Linked DNA regions of Homo sapiens: region 1 is linked to region 2. The links are contacts of gene promoters, found by promoter capture Hi-C in blood cells and fetal thymus (Javierre and others, 2016). All regions are on one chromosome and are shown on one strand. The core of a region is centred on a gene start or on the middle of the fragment in contact, and the rest is flanking DNA. Distances in the headings are between cores, read along the strand shown.

The links. Contacts are between HindIII fragments. The CHiCAGO score rates a contact against its expected background, and 5 or more counts as called.
Region 1: a fragment that was not itself captured here is called in contact with the fragment with the promoter of DCHS2 in region 2 in 1 of 17 cell types (naive B cells); the score reaches 6.1 in naive B cells.

What each region holds. Positions count from the first base shown.
Region 1 is chr4:154,358,772-154,362,926 of GRCh38, reverse strand. The region is part of intron 3 of DCHS2 (dachsous cadherin-related 2); the gene reads left to right. Among named protein-coding and RNA genes, the nearest start is that of DCHS2, 130 kb to the left of the region's middle. The HindIII fragment of the contact is 301 bases long and covers 1,715-2,015 here.
Region 2 is chr4:154,490,402-154,494,185 of GRCh38, reverse strand. DCHS2 (dachsous cadherin-related 2) reads left to right here and starts at 2,387. Exons shown (of 20, transcript NM_001358235.2): 1 at 2,387-3,784. The coding sequence starts at 2,831. RefSeq lists enhancers at 1,957-2,006, 2,809-2,988, 3,039-3,178, 2,647-3,602, 3,603-3,784. The HindIII fragment of the contact is 6,491 bases long and covers 1-3,784 here.

The sequences.
Region 1 (4,155 bases), core at 616-3,115, 130 kb after region 2:
TGGGTTAACACATCTTTTGTGTGTTTTATGTATTATATACTGTATTCTTACAATAAAGTTAGCTAGAGATGGGAAGTTATTATTAAGGAAATCATCAAGAAGAGAAAATATATTTACTATTCATTAAGTAAAGGTCTTCATCCTCATCATCTTCATGTTGAGATGGCCGAGGAGGAAGAGGAAGGAGAAGGGTTGGTCTTTCGGTCTCGTGGGTGTCGGAGGTGGTAGAGACGGAGGAAAGGGCAGGCAGGAGAGGCAGGCATACTTGTAACTGTTATTGAAAACTATCTGTGTATAAGTGGACTCACGCAATTCAAACCCATGTTATTCAAGGCTCAACTGTAGTCTTCCTCTTCTGGATATTTTCTTTCAGGAATCTACATAAAGCTGGACTTTCTTGCTCCCATCATATGGCCGATCTCTACAGAGGCTGCCAGTGTAAACACAGTCCTAAGAAAGTGCCCCCATCATATATTTGTGGAATAAATGAATAAATAACATCTAGAAATATTGCAAAAGTAACTTAAATCCTTCCTACAGCCTCTTAAAAATTTCATGGGAGTTTCATTGATATATGGAGCAAAACTTTATTTAAAATCCTCTTTCTGAATCACAGCATGGTAAGTGACTCTATGGCCTATCCCCACGTTTCCTCAAAACTCTCCCTAGACTTTCTCTCCAGCCTACCTGTGCTGGCACTTTACTTTTTGTTACCTCCCTTTGTCTCTGGATTTTTCTATTCTCTTCCAGAATACCTGTCTGGCCTTGACAATGGGAATTGTTCAAGCTAGTCTCAACACCTTTTAATTTTCCTTCTTCCTTTTTATCCTAAGTTCTTATATAGGCAGGTTGAGATGTTATGTCATATGAGAAGAAGATTGAGAATTGATGAGCCCATTTATACATTGCTACTTCTTCCTGAATTACTCTAGAATTCTCTCTTAGAGATTTCATTTGCACACTGGTTCATTCATTCTTTCATTTTGATGCTTTCTTTATCAGACATGCTATTTTATAAACTTACATGCTTTCTGTTATAGGCTTGTGTTTTCCTGAAGACAAAAGATTTCTCATTGATCTATTATGCCACAACCAAGACTCATGCATTTAAAAATAGAGCTGTTTGACTTACTGTGTTCATCTGGTATGAAAAATGTTTTGGAGAAAACTAGAAGGGGGTGTGGCGATGTCATGGTTGTTTTCTCTTGTGGGTTTATCTTCCTGTTCTGTTTCTAGTTTTCTGGGTTTGTTGCTGGTTCAAAGAACATTTTTGTAAAATGTGTTTAGGCGCCACGAGAGAGATACTGAGTTGAGCCTTCATTTCTCTTATTCTTAGTTCACTGGCTTTCTTTGATGTGGGCACAAGGCAGACCACACTGTTTTGAGTTTTAACGGGAAGAAACACAAGAGACATATTTATTAATAGCTCTTTTTTCATGTATTTTTAATCCCATTTTGTGAATTATATGTAGATTTCTTCCTCCATCGTTTGAAGTGCTCTCTTTAGTAACATTAAAAGAGCAGTTCTTTAGCTTTGGGGTTTGTCCTATTTATTCTGTAGTTTTACACTGGAAGAAACTACTTTTTTTTCAACTTTTATTTTAGATTCAGGGGATACATGTGCAGGTGAAGTTACCTGGGTATAATGCATAATGCCAAGGTTTGAGGTTTGAGGAATTCAGATCATTTTAAGGCAACAGGCAGGTTTCAAGCTTTTGTGCTGGTCATTTATTTTCATCCCAAACTATCTCTTTTATTCAGGCAACCATTGGTTAAATCTTGTGGTTTATCTCTTTTTCTATAGAAGCATGTTAATGATATAAATGCAAATCAATAAAAGTCATAAACAGAATGTAGCTTATCTATTCAAGGAATAAATGGAAGCCAGTTCATCTGTTCAATACATATTTATTCAGTGCTTATGATGCAGCAGGCCGTGTTCTAGGTGTTTGGGATACATCAGTGAATAAAACAGACAAGAATCCCTGCTCTTGTAGCACTTACAGCAACAAGCTTATGTGGCTTAGCCTTTGTCTGTTCTATGTTTAGTTGTGGTGTACACAAAATCCAAGTTTAGCACTACAGAAAAACAAGTAATTGAAAGGATATCAAACTGCCAGACAAGGGCAGCTGTTCCTCAGTGTTTAGTTGTAATCTTTTGTTTGTATGGGGTGTGTGATTTTAACATAGACTGTAAGTAATGTAGTACAGACTTGTTTTCTGTATTTCAAGGGCAGATTCTTTTCCAATGTTAGTTTTATGCTCAGATTTTATACCATGTAATGATTCTTGTAATTCTTCACAAACGCCACCTTCCTACATTTAACGTTGAACATTCTGGTATACAGTTAATAAATTAATACCACACCTCATTTCATAAGGGATGTGAGCCTGTTCCTGCCAAATAAATGATGACTTTCTCTTATTTGCAAGACAGAGTCTAAAATTAATCATGAGCACCTAATCAGTGTACGTTACTTTCATAGGAAACAAAAGCATGTTAGAGAATTTCTTCATTAGGTTTCTCGTACCAGATCACAGACTTATAAAGATGGAAAGAACCTTACAAATTAGCTGCCTCATTTAGTGGAGGAAGAAATTGAGGCTGGAAGGGATTTGATGACTTATCTAAAGGTACACTGTTGGTGATGGTGGCATTGGACTTGAATCCCATTCTAAACCTGTGATCTGTTCCTGTGCTGCTCTGTCTCAGATAATAATAGTTTTCAGTGTCTTTTCCATATGTAATATTGCCTATTTGAGTCTTACATTAATTACATGGGATAAACATGGCAAATATTTTTATGTTCATTTGCAGATTAAGAGACTGAAGACTCTAAAATTCTTAGTGACTTACTCAAAGACACAGTAGTAAACCTGACACTTGAATTTACTTCTTGCACTTCCATTTCAAGGCTTGTTTCATAATTATGACTTAAAAAAAAACACTAAAGATGAAGCTAAGATAAATATAGGTTCTACTGATTCAACTAAATAAGATAGAAAAATGACCTCTCATTGTGACAGGAATTTCTTTATAAGACTACCTAAACACCAAATTATCTGTTGAATTTTATTTACTCTTTCCAATTGAGTAAGTAGAACTCAGTGGACTTTTCCAAAACAGGTACATTTTTTTCTTAAGAATTTTTTAAAATTCTCAATATGAGATAGAATTTCAAATCCATTCTAGTTTTTTCAGCCAATACTACTTAGTCGCTAAGATTTGTGTGCAAAATAAATAGCACAGTGTAATCTATTTGGTAAATAAGTTTTTATATTCTCACAAACTGAATATAGGAGATACTTCATAAATATCTACAACTAAGAAGAAAATGGTATTGATATCCTGTAGCTTTTGGTTTGTATCTGTTTGTGAGAGAACCTCACTTTTAAACTCCGTATCTGTTGAAGGTCATGATTTTGTGCTTATTTTTGTTGCTAACTATTTCATGGCTTATAATTTTAGTAATGATTTACTGATTATTTTCTAATTATGAATTGCTACCTTGGTTAAAAATTCCATTTTCCAGGATATTTTATTCTGAAAGTCAGTATTGCTTAGTTAGTAGAAGAGCATGATTATGTACGTATATATATATCTTTAAGTTCACTTAGTACTGCATCTGTTCAAAACATTTTTTGATTACAACAGTTTCCTCTATTTAAATAAAAAGTGACAAGGTGAAGAGCATAGACAAACATTATATATGATAATTGGTATGTATAAATCCAAGCAGTCATTAAAATAGAAAATAACCAGTGCTCTGTAAGTTAATTAATGACGTTTTTTAAAGTTAATGTTTGTCCCTGCACTGGTGGTTAATTACCATTTGCAAGTGTCATGAAAAATGTGAGCTAAATAATCACTGTACTTTAAAGTATTAAAATATAGTGTCATAAATTTTACTCTGACCAATATATAGGCAAAGAGAGTTATTCATTTTATTTATGATTTTATTATTTATTATTAATAAATAACATGAATTATGATACACACATATATTACATATATGCATATTTATATATAGTAAACAATTAATAACAAATATGGGAGTTACATGTTTTCTAGCCCCTCAACTTCTAATAGAGAGCTTAGTTTATTTAAGCATGTTGGATTCAAATATACAATTACTAGTCAGTTATACTCAATAA
Region 2 (3,784 bases), core at 1,138-3,637:
TGTCCAACACATACTTAGTAAATAGAGACACACTACATGCTAGGTACTGTTCTAGGTGCTGAGATAAAGCAGAATGAAGGTTTTGAGGTTGTAATAATCTAATAAACAAATGAAAAAAGCAAGTTGATTTCAGATGCTGATAGGTGTTGTGAATGAAATATACTGAAAGGATATAGCATTTATAGTAGAAAGGCTATCTGAAATAGGGTAATTAGGGAAGATCTTTCTTAACAGAGGGCATTGGAGTTGAGACCTGAATGAGAAAGAGCTAGCTCTTTCCAAAGCAGAAAAAAGAACTCCCAGGCATGGAAAGTTCTAACAATTCAAAGGTACAAGATCAAAAAGAAGGCAGATGGCTGAGTCCAGAGTGGTGGTATGAGGCAAGGTCAGAAAGATGGATAGGATCCTGTACTACTAAAAGGAGCTTGATTGAAGGAGTCTGAATTATAATCTAAGTATAATGGAATCATTTCAGGTTCTAAGCAGGAGGTAATATGATTTGAGACAGCTTTAAAAACATTAATCCAGATGCTTGTTCAAGAATTACTTATAGGCTGGTTGCGGTGGCTCAAGCCTGTAATCCCAGCACTTTGGGAGGCCTAGGCAGGAAGACTGGCCCCAGGAGTTCGAGACGAGCCTGGGCAATATAGTGAGACCTCATCTCTACAAAAGTAAAAAAAATAAACAAATAAATTAATAAAATAATATAAAATTTGCCAGGTATAGTGGTGGGCACCCATAGTCCCAGCTACTCTGGAAGCTGAGGTGATGGAATCACTTGAGTCCATGAGGTTGCAGTGCGCCATGATTGCACCACCGCACTCCAGCCTGGGTGACAGAGTGAGATCCTGACTCAGAAAACAAAACAGCAACAACAACAACAATAGCAAAAACAGAAAAGAATTACTTATAAAGGGGCAAGAGTGGGAGGGGAGGGACTAGTTAGGGTGCAAATGCAGAGACTGAAGATAAAAAGACTCTAAAGACTCATAACAAATCTCTTTAATGGTTAAAGAGAGTTCATTGGGGGAAAGAAAGCTGAATTTATTTTAATAATGTCCCCATTTTCGGTAACATATATGCTACAAAGTCAATTATTTTATTGTTATTTGGTCACAGGTAGAGATAACGGTGTGGCTGTGGATTAGCAATTACATACACCTCCGTTGCACATTTAAAAAGGCATTTTGTTGTTGCTGCAAGAAACCACTATGCAGGGCTTTTGGTCCTCCCTAAAGGAGAGAAACGGTATCTAGGAAATTAATTCTTCTCTCAGGCCCAAATGCAAAATTGCAGAAACCACTTGCTAAATATGGTCAGCCATTTTTAAGAGTCCAGAGAGTCTTTTCTCAGGCGTACTTTATTAGAGGCCATTGATCAGTTTCTACCGATTATTATAGTTAATTGAAGGGAAATCTGCGACTATGGCTATTTATTGGCATTTGCGTTCGGCTCAGACAGAAGCTAGTTTTGAAAGTGGTATCCGTAGAGTTATCCCGCTTGCACACTTCCTTGCCTAGGGGTGGTGGGGGAGCGCTGAGGGCTTGCGGGGTGTCAGCCACCAGGGCTTTCTGCTCATCAGTCAGCATCGTCAGACATCCTGGAAGTGTTATGATGGCGCTGAATGTAGAAAAAGGGTTCTCAGGGCGGATATATTGTCGTCATTCCTGGTGGCAGAGGGGAGTGACAAGAGGCTCACACGTCGCTGGGTAGTAGCACGCATAATAAAGTGTGGTTTGCACCATGTGTGCCACAGATTTCTCGGGTTTTCTGGAAGGCTTTTCCAAGTTCCGCCTTCTCCCCTTTAAAGCCATCCTGGCCCCAGCTATGCATCGGCCTTTGACTCCATCTGTCCTTCCGCTGCGGACGGGAGTCCCTCTCGCCAAATGGAGAACACAAGTTTGGCACCCCAAAGTGATGATAACCTCTACCCTCTTGGCTCAGCGCGAGCCAAGAGTCAGGCCTGCAGAGGGACGGTCAAGCGGATGGAGGGGGAGGCCGCGGAGAGGCCGCTCCTCTCACCTCCCCGCACCCATCATCACTTGGCACTTGGCCAAGCCCAGGCAGACGCCCCGCCTGCGCGTCCCCCACCCGCCCCGCGGTGCACGTCTCCCAGTGCTTTTGCATTTGCTCCTCTTCCGCCCTGCTGCAGAGCGCGGCTCGCAGGTTGGAGTTTGCCCTCGTGTGCGCCGCATCACACGGCAGGGAGGGGAAGGCAGGCGGCGGAGGCTGGGTCGGAGCAGGAGTCGCGCGGTCCCTGGCGCCCGGAGACACAGTGGGGAACCACCGCCCCGCCCCCGGAGCAGCGGACAGGGCCGCAGACCTCCCTTCCCCCCTCCCTCTCTCCCTCCTCCCCAGCGCCCTGACTCCCTGCCTCCACGCCCTTACTCCACCCCCTACTCCGGCCAGATCCCCATCCTCTCCTTGTGTGTGCGCGCTTCATATAATCTCCTCCTTTTTGGCAAAAGAAATAATGCACCTGACTTTACCAGGGGGGAACAACCAGCCGAGTAGAACAAGGAACAGATGTAAAGGGAATAAAAGGAGAGAGAAAAAGAGATGAGATTCGTTTAAAGAAATCCAGGGGCAGAAGAGGTGGCTGCCGCGGCAGAGGCAGCTAGAGCTTACTTCCCTGTCTGCGTGAGCTGCAGGCAGAGGACGCTTTCACCAGTTGCAGATGTAACCTCGGGAATTCCTGGGCCGTCGGTTTGTTTGCCAAACAAAGTCTTTTCTTCTCTGGCTCAGACACTGAAGAGGCTCCTGGATTTTTCTGCGATCCTGCCACAAGCTGGCAGTTACCCGAGAGCCTTCCCAAGGAGCTGGAGGAGAAATGAGCCCTTGTGGGCGGAAGATGGGCGAAGGGCGTCAGCAGCGGCGGGCTCCGGTCGGGAAGCTCCTTCTGCTCCCCGGGAGGAGAGATACACCCCATGGGCGGTCAGGCAGCAGCGGCGCCAGGACGCAGCGCTCCCTGCTCTGGCTCTTGGTGCACGTGTGGCTGTGGGCGGCCTCGGGCTCCTCTGCCCAGTTGTTCAACCTCACCCTTTCCGTAGATGAGGGGCTTCCCCCGGACACGCTGGTAGGTGACATCCGCGCCGGGCTGCCGGCCGCGCAGCAGCAGGAGGGGAGCGGCTTCTTTCTGTCGGAGGACTCCGATGACTCCCCGCTGCTGGACGACTTCCACGTGCACCCGGACACCGGCATCATCCGCACTGCGCGGCGCCTGGACCGCGAGCGGCGGGACCACTACAGCTTCGTCGCCGCCACGCTGCTGGGCGCTGTGGTGCAGGTGGAGATTCGCGTCAACGACGTGAATGACCACTCGCCCCGCTTTCCCCTCGACTCCCTGCAACTCGACGTCTCCGAGCTCAGCCCGCCAGGGACCGCCTTCCGCCTGCCAGTTGCCCACGATCCGGACGCCGGACTGTTCAGCACTCAGGGCTACACCCTGGTGCAACCGTCCGACCTGCCCAAGGACCCCGCAGGCCCGTTCTTCCAGTTGCGCTACCGGACTCCGGGGCCACTACCGTCACCGCTTTTGCCAGGCTCCTCGTCACCCCTGGAGCCTCTAGATCTGGTGCTGCTGCGGCGCTTGGACCGAGAGGAGGCGGCGGCGCACCGGCTGCAGATCGAGGCATGGGACGGCGGCCGACCCCGGCGCACCGGCCTCCTGAGCGTGGAGCTGCGCGTGCTGGATGAGAACGACAACCCGCCGGTCTTTGAGCAGGACGAGTACCGCGCCGCGGTGCGCGAGGACGCCCAGCCGGGCGCCGAGGTCTGTCGCGTG